Linked DNA regions of Homo sapiens: region 1 is linked to region 2. Evidence: promoter capture Hi-C in human tissues and cell types (Jung and others, 2019). All regions are on one chromosome and are shown on one strand. The core of a region is centred on a gene start or on the middle of the fragment in contact, and the rest is flanking DNA. Distances in the headings are between cores, read along the strand shown. Region 1 overlaps BICRAL (BICRA like chromatin remodeling complex associated protein). Region 2 holds the start of PRPH2 (peripherin 2).

Region 1 (2,876 bases), core at 285-2,784, 64 kb after region 2:
TAAGACTTTAAAATCTCAGTACGTTTTTTTTTAAAGTATGTTGTCTCATTCTATTGAGAAGTTATACAACATACAGGCTTCTAGGTCTAGCCAGGCCATCTAGTTTAGTCAAGACAGCTGTGTAACAAACGTAGCCTTGAGGCCTGGCACGGTGGCTCATGCCTGTAATCCCAGCACTTTTGAGGCTGAGGCGGGCGGATTACCTGAAGTCAGGAGTTAGAGACCAGCCTGTCCAACGTGGTGAAACCCCGTCTGTACTAAAAATACAAAAAAGCTAGCCGAGTGTGGTGGCAGGTGCCTGTAATCCCAGCTACTTGGGAGGCTGAGGCGAGAGAATCACTTGAACTGGGGAGGCAGAGGTTGCAGTGGCCCGAGACCCCACCATTGCACTCCAGTCCGGGAAACAAGAACGAAACTCCCATCTCAAAAAAAAAAAAAAGAATTGAATCCAGGATTGATCCAGAAATTGAGAATAGGGTAGAAAAGACCCTGATATAAAGACCTGAAGATAAATCCTTAAAAGAAAAGGTTGTTTCCTGAATTTTGAATTGTGGACATATCTTCTGGGTTTTGGGAAGTAGGATAGTCAAGTTATGTGGAACCTAATAGCAGAATATGGATAAAAACACAGGTCAGGGCCAGGCACAGTGGCTCACACCTGTAATCCCAGCACTTCGGGAGGCCGAGGTGGGCGGATCACGAGGTCAGGAGTTCGAGACCAGCCTGACCAACGTGGTGAAACCCCGTTTCTACTAAAAATACAAAAATTAGCCGGGCTTGGTGGGCACATGCCTGTAATCTCAGCTACTCAGGAGGCTGAGACAGGAGAATGGTTTGAACCTGGGAGACGGAGGTTGTAGTGAGCTGAGATCGCGCCACTGCACTCCAGCCTGGAGACAAAAAACACAGGTCAGGAAGAAGCATCTAGAGCAGGTGATGAATAGATGACCTTACTAAAATGAGAAAGAACCAAGTCAGTGATGAAATCATTAATTTCTCTGGATTAAGGATCATGGATTTTATTTTGTGCTTTCTCTTGTTGATTCTTCTCAAATCGTTGTGTTTAGTAATTGCTAGGGAGAGTAGTTTAAAACTTAGATTTTTGATGCAGATGTCAGAATTATACCATCTTTGCATATGTCCACATTGGAAAGTTTTTGTAAGGAGCATTTGTTGGATACCTCTGTGCAGTCTGTGTCCAGTCTAGACCACTAGGTGGGTGGAGTGACTTCCAGTTTTTGAAGGGAAGTCACTTCTGGTTTTTCTCCCCTTGTTTTTTATGGTAAATGCCAAAGTAATTATAATCTTTGACTAGACTAAAATCCAATAAAGCTTGAAAGGAGGGGGAAATCTAAAACTGCTTAGAGGGAAACAGTAGCTTCTTTAACCTTGTTGGAATTTTAAGACCGGCAAGATCTCTGCACTCATGAAATTTACAGTATAGTGGGGAAGGACAGAAAATAGTTAAAAAATCAAGATAATGACAGATTAAGAAAAAATATTAAGTGGCTGGTGGATCTAAAAGAGTATGTTGGGAATGACCATTTTGGCTAGTAAGGGTCAAAGAAAGTCTTTTCATAGAGGTGATATTTGAGCTGAGACGTGAAACATGAACTTGTGCTAGCCATGTGAAAAGCTGGGGAGACATTTCAGACCTGGGAACAAGTTCAAAGACCTGGAAGGCTGGTTGTTAGACTGGAGAGAAGGCTCCTCTGAGCAAGGGGAGAAATTATGAATAGGGTAGGAATGAGATGGAGTTGGAGAGATCCTATAGGTCGTCTTGTATTACTCCATAGGGGGATTTTTGGATTTAATTCTAATGGCAATGAGAGGGGTTTTAATTTGGGCAGTGATAATGTTTTTAAAAATAACTGGCTATTTAGAGGAAGAGAGGAAACAGGGAAGTTAGGAGGCTATTGTAGTCAGCCCAAGATCGATAGTATCTCAGGCAAGTAAAGTGGCAATGAGATACAGCAGAGTAGACAGCAACTTTTACATATGTATTTTGGAGGTGGAATCAGAAGGATTTGCTTAATGGGTTGGCTGTGGAGGGAGAGGGAGGAATCAAGGGTGCCTTCAGGTTGCAGGCTCCAGCCTTGGGCTGCTGATGGTACCATTTGCTGGTTGGAGAAGACTGGAGGAGGAACAGGTGGAGAGGAGTGGGTAGCAAGAGTTCTGTGTAAATACTTGGGAGGCATCCAAGCGGAGAGTTAAGTAGGCACTGAATATTTAAGTTGAGCTGAGGGGAGTGATCTAGACTGGACATAAATTTTGGGAGTCACTAGTATACAGATGGCATGTCATGGAACTGATTGAGATTGTTTGTGGCCTTAAGATCAAGCCCTGCGAGACTGGAGTAATAAAACTCTGGTCTCCCACACAGCCAGCTCTGTGTGGGGAAAAAAAAAAGCCCTAAAACACTAACAACGGCTAAAGCTTGGGCAAAGGAGACTGAAAAGGTTCAGCCATTAAAGTGGGAGAGTATTTTATTATTTTCAAGAAAGAGGGAATGGTCACCTCTGTCAAATGCTGCTGAGAAGTTACACAATGAGAATAGAGAAATGTCTATTTGGATTTGACAACATGATGGTGACTGTTTTGACAAGTGGTCCAAGCCACATTGGGATGCTTCGAAGAGAGAATAGGAAGTGAGGTGAATATCGACAGCTCGTTAGGGAAATTTTGCTGCTGTAAAGTGGAGAGAAGCAGCTTAGTGGCTTCAGAGGGAGATGGGGTCAAAGAAGAGGGCTTTTTTTTTTTTTTAATTTTTTTTTAAGACAAGATGTCACTCAGTCATCCAGGTTGGAGTGCAATGGTGCAAATTACGGCTTACCACAGACTCAACCTACTGGGCTCAAGTGATCCTCCTACCTCAG
Region 2 (2,721 bases), core at 193-2,692:
CAGAGTGACTAGTGACCTGCCCAAGGTCACAAGACCTTGAACAACAGAACCAAAACTTCACCCTAGATCTCATGACTTCCCCTTCCTATGCTCTTTCCAACATATCCAGACAAACATCTTGGGAATGGATGCTCAGGGTTGAAAGGTTGGAAAACAAGGGAACTAACTAGGAAATTTAAACTTCTGGGACTGAATCCATCTACTTTGAATGAATGGGACAAATAGCCAAATAGTACCTCAGTGTTTGTGATCTATGAATGACTTCCATCCCTCTGTATAAAGTGGACACACATTGCTGCCTGGCTCTTCATCCCAAGGGGCTCCTATCCAAACAGCTTATATAAATTGATACCTTCCTACCACCTTAGCCAATGTTAGGTTGAACCCTATGAAGTTGTCATTTTTTATGGGTCAAAGAGGTAGAATATTAGCAATTTCATATGGTTCCACCTGATACACCCTCACATACGCAGCAATAAGTTGTGCACCCGATGGAGAGGAAAAGGCACTGGGTGCGGGGAGAGGGGCTGGTCAGAGGCCTGAGCCTCAGTGTCCCCAATATATTCATAGCTCTGACCCCAGGACTGGAAGCCACTCACTCTTTGACTTCTTTGGAGGAAAAGTCCAGGTAGCGATTGCTGATCCACTGAATCTCAAACCAGTCCCGAAAACCGTTGTTGCCGCAGCATTTGAACTCGATCTGCAGCATGTCGATGGTCTTCTTCATGAAACACCTGCCAGGGGTGTCTGTGTCCCGGTAGTACTTCATGCCGTTCTTGAGCCCTTGGCCCAGGGTGTTCTCCAGCGAGCCCCGAAGCAGAAAGCAGCAGAGAGCCACAAGGAAGAGGATGATGTTGAAGAGAACACAGATAGCCAGGTACGGCTTCAGCCAGGGCTTCCATCTGGCATACTTGGCTGGGTCCAGGGCGTCGTAGCAGATCTTCCCAGCCAGCGAGTTGAAGACACAGGATAGCACCCCCATCCCTATCAATGAGTTGGGCACAAAATGGCTCTCAGAATTATTCATCACATCGCTCCTCTTTCGGAGTTCAATCTTCAGGAACAGTCCTAGGCTGAAGATGATGATGCCAGCCAACACGGAGAACCAGTTCATGAGCCAGAGCCCTTGGGCCAACTTGACCCGCTTCTTCTGGTCAAACTTGACTTTCAGTAGCGCCATGCTTGCCAAGTGTAGTCCGGGTTGCTTCCCACAGCACAGCTCCCACCCCAAACCTTAACGAGCCCAGAGGCGGAGACTTAGGGCCTTGGGAAAAGTGCAGATGGCCCAAGCTGTAGGGAGCTGCCCTGGGGGCTACCCATGTCGAGTCCCACTAGCCTGGGATCCCCGTGAATGCAGTAGTGGTGGCAGGGGTCTCGGAATCACAGCTTGAGCAGGGGATAGTCCTGGTCCTGGGCGTTGTTTCTTCAGCGCCCTTCCCAGCCAAGAAGGGGCAGCCTGAACGCTGCAGATTAAAAGTGGGATCCACAAGACATTTTGCTAATCTCTTTAGCCAGGTTCATCCCATTAGATAAAGCCATGCCACTCTCAAAACATGGTCAAAAGCAGCCTCCAGGTACATGCTGAACCAGAAAGCTCTGGGTACAGCTTGGAGAATCAGGAGCAAAGGGCAAGACTGGCCAGAAGAATGGGCTGTATCTGGATGTCTGGCTCAGACCGTGTTGCTCCCCAAAAGCATATTTCCAGGCCAATCTCCTTCAACATTTAAAACTTTCTGTAGGACAAATAAATTGTTATCCTCTCTGAGAAAAGAAATGACAGGGCCAGGCACAGTGGATCACGCCTATAATCCCAGCACTTTGGGAGACCAAGTTGGGTGGATCACTTGAGCCCAGGAGTTCAAGACCAGCCTGGGCTACATAGGAAGACCCCATCTCCACACACACACACACACACACAAAAAAAAAAAAAAAAAAATTAGCTGGGTATGGTGGCATGCACCTGTAGTTCTCCCAGCTACTCTGGAGGCTGAGGTGGCAAGATCACCTGAGCCTGGGGAGTTCAAGGCTGCACTGAGCCATGATCGTGCCACTGCACTCCAGCCTGGGTGACAGAGTGAGGCCCTGTCTCAAATTTTAAAAAGACAAAGAAAAGAAGAGAAGAAGGAAGGAAAGAAAGAAAGTGACAGATCGTGAGAAAACATTTGCAACTTGTAAAATTAAAAAGTAATATACAGTGGCCAGGCATGGTGGCTTATGCCTGTAATCCCAGTACTTTGGGAGGCCAAGGCAGGTGGATCGCTTGAGCCCAGGAGGTGGAGGTTGCACTGAACTGAGATCCCCACATTGCACTCCAGCCTGGGTGACAGTGAGACTCTGTCTGGAAAAAAAAAAAAAAGAATTAATATGCAAAAATGTTTTAAGTCTCACAAATTCACAATAAACAAAAATTCACAATCAAAAGACCAATAATCAACTGGAAAAATAGGCAAAAACCAGGAACAGACAATTCATAATTAGGAAACTTGAAAAGTCCAATAATCTGGAAAAGATCTCAACTTGGGTAATAAGCAGGAAAATGCAAATCCAAACAACAATAAAATACCAAACTTGGCCGGGCACAGTGGTTCACACCTGTAATCCCAGCAGTTTGGAAGGCCAAGGTGGGTGGATCACTTGAGGTCAGGCATTCAAGACCAGCCTGGCCAACATGGTGAAACCCTGTCTCTACTAAAAATACAAAAATTGTCTGGGTATGGTGAC

The links. The method cuts DNA at HindIII sites, captures the fragments that hold promoters and counts their contacts. A contact is called where the count stands out against the background at its distance.
Region 1: a fragment that was not itself captured here is called in contact with the fragment with the promoter of PRPH2 in region 2 in 2 of the 25 tissues and cell types used here (pancreas and spleen).

The regions. Positions count from the first base shown.
Region 1 is chr6:42,785,138-42,788,013 of GRCh38, forward strand. The region is part of intron 1 of BICRAL (BICRA like chromatin remodeling complex associated protein); the gene reads left to right. LOC401261 (a long non-coding RNA gene) reads left to right here. Exons shown (of 2, transcript NR_134654.1): 1 at 1-194. Among named protein-coding and RNA genes, the nearest start is that of BICRAL, 4.5 kb to the left of the region's middle. The HindIII fragment of the contact is 4,014 bases long and covers 1-2,876 here.
Region 2 is chr6:42,721,155-42,723,875 of GRCh38, forward strand. It overlaps PRPH2 (peripherin 2), which reads right to left and starts at 1,443. Exons shown (of 3, transcript NM_000322.5): 1 at 600-1,443. The coding sequence starts at 1,180. The HindIII fragment of the contact is 25,287 bases long and covers 1-2,721 here.